Regions from separate parts of the Homo sapiens genome. Here region 2 is linked to region 1. The links are contacts of gene promoters, found by promoter capture Hi-C in human tissues and cell types (Jung and others, 2019). All regions are on one chromosome and are shown on one strand. Each heading gives the region's core, a stretch centred on a gene start or on the middle of the fragment in contact. The rest is flanking DNA. Distances are from core to core; before and after follow the strand shown. Region 1 holds the start of DYM (dymeclin). Region 2 overlaps DYM (dymeclin).

Region 1 (3,688 bases), core at 683-3,182:
ATGAGTCACCACGCCCAGCCCTGAGTCTCTTTTTGCTGTAATTTTAAAATAAAATTGTACATGTACTTCATATTCCTTGCAGAAAAATTAGAAAACATAGGGAAAAACTAATTTTAACCACACAGGATCTCATTACCCAAAGTTGCAATATTGTTAATATTATTTGTCTTTTTTCCAACAGCACATATACATAGGTATTATAAATATTATAGTAAACATATATTACATATGTTATATTAATATATCATTTAATATATTAATATAAATATTATATTAAGTGGCAAAACCACAATTAGTTTTGCACCAACCTAATATAATTCACTTATGAAAATTTGATACTATATATGTTTCCACTCAGTGTATCATGAAAATGTTTTCAAATAAATATGCATCCATAGCATTCTTTACAATGACTGCATAGTAGTGTCTATGGCTTTTTAGTTAGGTAGTTTGGGGTTTTTTTTTTTTTTTGAGACAGTGTCTCGTTCTGTTGCCCAGGGTAGAGTGCAATGGTGAGATTATGGCTCCCTGAAGCCTCAACCTCCCGGGCTCAAGCGATTTTCCCACATCAGCCTCCCGAGTAGCCGGGACCGAGGGTGTGCCAACCACTCCCAGCTAATTTTTGTATTTTTTGTTGAGACAGTGTATCGCTATGTTGCTCAGGCTGGTCCTTCCGAACTCCTGGGCTCAAGTGATCCTCCCACCTTAGCCTCCCAAAGTATTGGGATTACAGGCATAAGCCACAGGGCCCAGTCTACTTTGGGTTTTAATATGTTTTCCTGTCATAATTCTGCAAGCTCAGTGAATTTACTGGCAGTCTATGCTAGAAAAGAATACCTAATATTTGTATAGTACTTTACAGAGTACACTGGCACATATTGACTATATAATGGGAATAACGGTGCTATCTGTTCCATAGGGTCATTTTGCGAAATAATAGTGCATGGCAAATAGAAAATAATCCATAATGTGAATTGTTATTACTACAGTCATGTCAACATTTCCTGTAATGGCAGAATCATCATCATGCATATATTTTAGGTGAGGAAACTGGCTGAGAGAGGTGAAGTAATTGCTCAAAGACGTCAGTGTGGAAACCTCAGCTCATTTGACTTCAAATTCCATAGTTTTGGCACTATCTCATATTGCTACTCTTTCCCGTGGGACCTGTCCTTTCCGACAACTTTGCAGGCAGGGCTAGCCCTGCCAGCTGCCTCCATCAAAAATTATTTTGCTATTTCTCAATTCTCCAGAATCCCACACAATATTGCTTGACTTTGGGATGGTTATTCAGCTGCAATTAACAGAGGCCTTAATAAGGTTAAGCCGCCAGAACGAGCGGTGTAGCATGAGCGAGGACTCTAGCACCTGGCAGGTGAGGTTGACTCTAGCACCCGGCAGGTGAGGTTTTTGCGCTTCTCTCTCTCTCTCTTTTTTTTTTTTTGAGAAGAGTCGAGCTCTGTCGCAAGGCTGGAGTGCAGTGGCCCGATCTCGACTCACTGCAATCTCCGCCTCTCGGGTTCAAACGATTCTCCTGCCTCAGACAGCTACTTTTTGACTCACTGCAATCTCCGCCTCTCGGGTTCAAACGATTATCCTGTCTCAAACAGCTACTTTTTGTATTTTTAGTGGAGACGGGGTTTCACCATGCTGGCCAGGATGGTCTCGATCTCCTGACCTCGTGATCCGTCCACCTCGGCCTCCTAAAGTGCTGGGATTACAGGCGTGAGCCACCGCGCACGGCTGTTTTTGCGCTTCTCGATTTCGCCACGTGGCTTTGCGGTAGCCCAGGAGGTACTAGGAGGGCGGAGGCACGAATAACACCCAAAGGACTACAGTTTCCAGAAGCCCGCGCGCGCCGCGTGCCACGTGACCACCTGGCTGGCGCGCGCGCCTGGGGGTCTGGTCCCTAGCCGCGTTCTCGGTCGCTTCCCTCTTCTCTCGCCGCCTCCTGGCCTCCGCACCGACGCGGCCCGGGCTGGAGCCGAGCCGGGGCCGAGCTGCAGGCCGGACCGGAGCCGGATCTGTACCCGCTGAGACGTGGAAACATGGAGGCCTGAGCCGGTGTGCGCCACCTGGGCTGCGGCGGCGACAGCGACTTCTCCTGACCCCTCTGCCACCCTCCCATCCGTCCGCGGGTCCGTGGAGCTGGAGCAGATCCCCCAGCCGGCTGAGACAGGTGGGCTGTAGCGCCGCCCCCCTCAGCGCGGCCGGGCCCGAAAGCCTGGCTGTCCCCGGCCTCCTGTCAGAGGGGGTCAGGGGCCACCCTCCGCAACCCGGCCAGCGCCCCGGGGCGGCGGCGAAGGGACCCTCCCTTCCCTGCCCGCGGGCGCCTGGGCCACCCGGAGGGGCTGTGCTGACAGCGGACGGACCTCTGTCCGAGTCCGCTGTTGGGAGTTGGGGGATACCGAAGGCCAAGTCGGTGCTTCCGGAGATGGGGCGGTGTTGGTCTGACAAATGGGCGTGTGATGGGCAGGGTGAGCAATAGCTGTTGGGTTTTTCTTTCTTCTTTTTACATTCATAGTTTATCGAGGTATAACTAACATATCAGAAAATTAACCCTTTAAAAGTACAACTCAGTGGTTTTTAGTATATTCACAGGGTTGAGCAGCCATCACCACCCTTAACTCCAGAGCATTTTTAATCACCGCCCCCCCCGCCCCAAAGAAGCTCGTACCCATTAGCAGTCACTCCTCCTTCTCTCCCCTACACTATTGATCTACTTTCAGTCGCCGTGGATTTGCCTGAGCAATTGTGTTTTGACTGAAAAGTGAAAGGGTGGGTGTTTGTGAACTGGGGGCAGTAGTGGGGTTTGAGGGTATTGGTGTGGTAAAGCTGATTGGATAAAGCTGTTCTCTACTGAACAGGGGTAGAGAAGTGATGGGATGATTGTAATCGGCCAGCAAAGCGGGTACCCAGGATAGACTGATTAGGGGGCACAGATGGAGTGAGTTCCTTGAAAGAGGAGAGGGGAAGTTGGAGAGAGGGGTGTGTAGAGCAAGGGTGATGTGCTGAAGGATGAAAACCTGGAGGGTGGAGGCCGTGGAGAGGAATGTAGCGTCCACCAGAGGAACTCAGGTGCTTAGGCTGATGAGTTGAGGGCTCAAGAGAAGAACGAGGTGGAAGGGAAGAGAATCTATAGGAATGGGTGAATGGTTGTTGCAGAGGATGAAATTTATGAATATATGGATTTCTGGAGTGATTATCCTGCTTTGAAGTTTTATTTTAGATAATCCTCTCAGCAACTTGGAGATAGACCGGACAAGTATGAATATTCCCATTCTGTAAATGAAGAACTAGTCTTTTAGAGGTTAGGTGTCTGCCTTAAGCTCATAAACTGAGTACATAGGGCAAAATGAGTTGGAATAATTGATGAAACTATCAGTCGCAAGTGGATTAAATGGCAGAGAACTGAGTTGGGGCAATGTTAATAGGAAGGAGATTCAGCTATTAAGAAGTCTGTGTTGTTACGACATATAGGTCAAGGAGTTTTTATGTTTTTGCACCTTTTAACCATAGAAAAGTTCACACAGTGAAATAATAAAGGGTACTCCCATGTACCCATTACCCAGCTTCAGCAGTTAACTCATGCCAATTTAATTTCATCTATGTCCCTATGCATTCCTATCCCCACTCACAATTATTTTAAAGCAAATCATAGACATTCAATTTCATCTGTAAATATTTC
Region 2 (3,688 bases), core at 872-3,371, 400 kb after region 1:
GGATTATAATCTCCTTCCCATCACGACATCCATTTCCACCCTCATTTTCAAAGGTGGAAAGGAAACAGGATGAGGAAGAATCCCTGGGGTGAAATTTGAATGCACACTTCTGAAGGGGAGCGACTTTTTCTAAACTTTGTAAAGAGGGTGACCCCTCACTGAAGTCAGTTTTTCTAAGCTGGAACCGTTAGCCCTAGTGTGTTCCAAAGACTCCTATTTCCTTTCCAAATAATTCAGGAGTCAGGTGGAGGAGAACAAATGGCAAACAGCATGGCCACCCGTGTGTGTTCTGTGCATGGCAGTCAGGGCTGGGCACTGTGCCGTTGGTGCAAAGCACCTGGAGTCTAGTCCACTTTAACTCTTGTCTCGGGAATCTTAAGGGCTCGTGGTTTTCCCTGAAACCTGTGGGAGGAAGCTTGCTGGCTTCACATTTATGGCAGGAGGACCAGAAGAGTCCATCAGTGGCTGTATTTGCAGGCCTCGGAGATCCCACAGTCAAGGCCTGGGGACTGACTAGGTCATAGTCAGCAGGTCCTGAGCTGGGCTAGATAAGAGTGTGCTTCCTAGACTGTGATCAGAAAGTTAATCGTTGGTGACAGTGAGTCTGCCCTTGTTCCTAAGCCATTGTTTTAGTTTTGTAAGATTTATAGGGCTGACAATCAGATTAAAATGTATAGAATAAGTAAAACCTCCTTCCTTCAGAAATGTGTATTGGGACTTTCTCCCAGTCTCTCTCTCCCCGTTTTCTAACCTTTGAAGATAAAGGCAGGAGAATTATAATTCTGACAAGCCTTCCAGACAGCTTGCTTAATCTGGGCTATGAGGCTATCAGGCCTGGAGGCTTGTCTCTGCAGCTACTGCTAAACTGAACATCCAGGCACCATGAGGTCAGCTGCACAGAGACCCTTTCCCAGAGGCAAACTGGCTCAAAGAGAGACCGTATCAGAAAAATAAAGACTTATTAGGATGGAGCCAGATGGAGGATGGAAACAGAATTTTATTTGTGTGCTCTTTTGTTTCTAGGGAAAAACAAAAGCAACACAGGTCACTGGACTCTAAACATATGAAGTTTGACTATTTACAGAGGAAGCTCTTGGATTCATTTCTAGATCTCTTCCTTCCCAGCCCTGATTTCCTTCCCTTTCTGGGGAGAGGCAGCTGTGAAGAGCTGCCAAGTCTCTCTGCCCACTCACCCTGGTGGCACTGCCAGCTCTCCTCTGTTCCCACTGTCATCTTTGGGTCCTGGCCCTCAGCCCCCATCGCCTAGACCCTGCACTAGTCCCCCAGCTGCTCCCCTCCAAGGGCTGCTTCCCTCCCATCCAGAGGGACCACATTGTTTCCCAAGTAGTCTCCCAAGAGCACGCTGAGGTCCTGGGCACAGCTTTGCTCAGGTGCGTGGAGTGGCCCCACTTTGTATGCAGAAAAGTCTAGGCTCAGTCTCAGCAGATCTCCATAAACCTGCCTTCCAAGCTATTTTCACATTCCCCCTCTTATTCTCAAACACACCGGCTGGTCCGTGGGCACCCTTGTGCTTTTCTGTCTCCCTGTCTGTGCTTCTATTATTCCTCTGCCTGGGATGCCCTTCCCCCCACCTCCACATGCCCAAATCCTACCCTTTGTTTACAGACCACCTAGGTGCCTTCTCCTCCTTGAAGCCTTTCTTGATGCTTCCAGTTTAATTTCTCCCTTCCCTGGATCCCCACAGATTACACTTATTTGCACACTTCAGATGATATTATCACCTCCTATCTTGTCTGATAGTTATTTTTGTACATGTTTTATCTCCATGTCTAGATTATGAACACCATGGTTCGGAGGCGCTGCCTCTACTTTTTGGTATCTTCTGTGGCAGTGGTTTCCATTGAGAAGCCATTGAGATTTTTTTAAGCACAGAGTAACATGATCAGGTTTTTATTATGGACTTTTTTGTTCATGCCCCCCTCACTACCCAGGAACTGCTCAGAAAGGGATGGTTCAAATCTTTTTCTCAGCCAGGCTTCTGAACAATTTCCCTGACTAGGCAGTGCCTTACACTTCTCTCCTCTCCATCAGGACCACCCCAGGTGAACTATCTTGCCAGCATCCCCTGACTGTACTTTTCACGGTCTCTCTCTCTCTCCCTCCTTCTCCCTCTCCCTCTCTCCCCCTCTCTCTCTCTCTCTCCCTCCTTCTCCCTCTCCCTCTCTCCCCCCACCTCCCTCTCTCCCCCTCCGTCTCTCCCCCCTCCCCCCTCCCTTCCCCTCTCCTCCTCTCCCCCTCTCCCCCTCTCCCCCTCTCTCCCCCCTCCCTTCTCTAAGCCACCCTGTGGCAGAGGGTACTGTTCCTCACTCAGCAATGCCTGACCTGGGGCTGCATGGCACACAGAGAGCCTACCTTCAAATCATTTATGTCCAGTAGTGAATGGAAACTATCCAAACCCATGTCCAGCCAGGCACTTTGTAGGAAATATACAGGTAATGCTGTAAGCAGGCAGATACTGGGCACTGGAGAGGACCACTTAAGACTCTGGAGGGAGGGAAGCATCCGCACCAGCACTGTAGGAAATGGAAGTGTGGTGGGAAGGACATCCTAGCTATAAAGAGACCTGTCAGAAAAGGCATGGAGGCGGGCATTTGCCTGAAGTGTGCAGGGGACCCCAGGGAGCTCACCTGGCAGAGGCTGATGGTTTGCTTAAAGGAGAGGAAGCAAATGAAGCTCAGAGGTCCTGGGCACCCAGTTTGTGGAGACTCCAGAGTCCATACAAATCAGAACTGGCAATTATTGCATTGTACTTTCTAACATTAGGTTATGTTAGAGGATTGCTTTTTAGTGATTTTTTTTCATTTGCATTTATCTTAGCTCTCCAAGTAAATGTTAAGATCCTTAAGGGCAGGGACCATATTTCATATTTTTATTAAATGCTTTTATGGTACAAAACGTCACCCTATAATTTATTTTATTCTCATATTGGGTTTTCTTAAAGCAGGGTAAAATGTTCTTACCTGTTTAATTAGGTTAATATTTAAGAGTGAAAATATATAATGTCCAGAATTAACATCAAACTAATTCAGAGGAGGGAAGTTGGGGTAGCTTAAATGAGTGCCCATGAGTTAATGGCTTGTAGCTGGTTGATGGGCACACAGTGTTCACTGTATTATTTTCCCCACTTTGGTGTGCATGGGTAATTTTCCATAATAAGATGTTGGGTCTCCGGTGGTACTGAGTAAGCCTTCAGCTTGCAGGACTCCCAGCACAGCCCCCTCCCTCATACCACCACACTGTGTAGCAGCCACCTGGGCCCCTAACTGCCAGCTGAGCCCCTTGCTACAGGCCTGACTTCCGGAACAGCCAGGAAAACAGCTAAGGATCAACCATTGTGTTAGGGTCCTGGTACAGTCACAGCTCAGTGATGCAGACCCATCAACCAGGTGGCAAAGATGACCATTATTTTGTATCACCATTGTATTTGTTAAAGCACTAGTGATTACAGTTATAATGTAAATATTAATAAAAAGGAAAGAAGGATGCATGGGTGAGCAGGTCACCTTTTGTCTTAGTTCGCTGGGGCTGCTATAACCAAATACTGTGGAATGGGAGGCTTATAAACAACAGAACTTACTTTTCACTGTCCTGGAGGCTGAGAAGTCTAAGATCAAAGCACCAGCAGATTTGGTGTCTGCTGAGGGCCCACTTTGTGGTTCGTAGACAG

What was found. The method cuts DNA at HindIII sites, captures the fragments that hold promoters and counts their contacts. A contact is called where the count stands out against the background at its distance.
Region 2: a contact is called between a fragment that was not itself captured here and the fragment with the promoter of DYM in region 1, in 1 of the 25 tissues and cell types used here (lymphoblastoid cells).

What each region holds. Positions count from the first base shown.
Region 1 is chr18:49,458,889-49,462,576 of GRCh38, reverse strand. DYM (dymeclin) reads left to right here and starts at 1,932. Exons shown (of 18, transcript NM_001353214.3): 1 at 1,932-2,179. RefSeq lists a silencer at 1,954-2,533. The HindIII fragment of the contact is 14,393 bases long and covers 1-3,688 here.
Region 2 is chr18:49,059,224-49,062,911 of GRCh38, reverse strand. The region is part of intron 17 of DYM (dymeclin); the gene reads left to right. Among named protein-coding and RNA genes, the nearest start is that of MIR4744, 11 kb to the right of the region's middle. The HindIII fragment of the contact is 6,065 bases long and covers 1-3,688 here.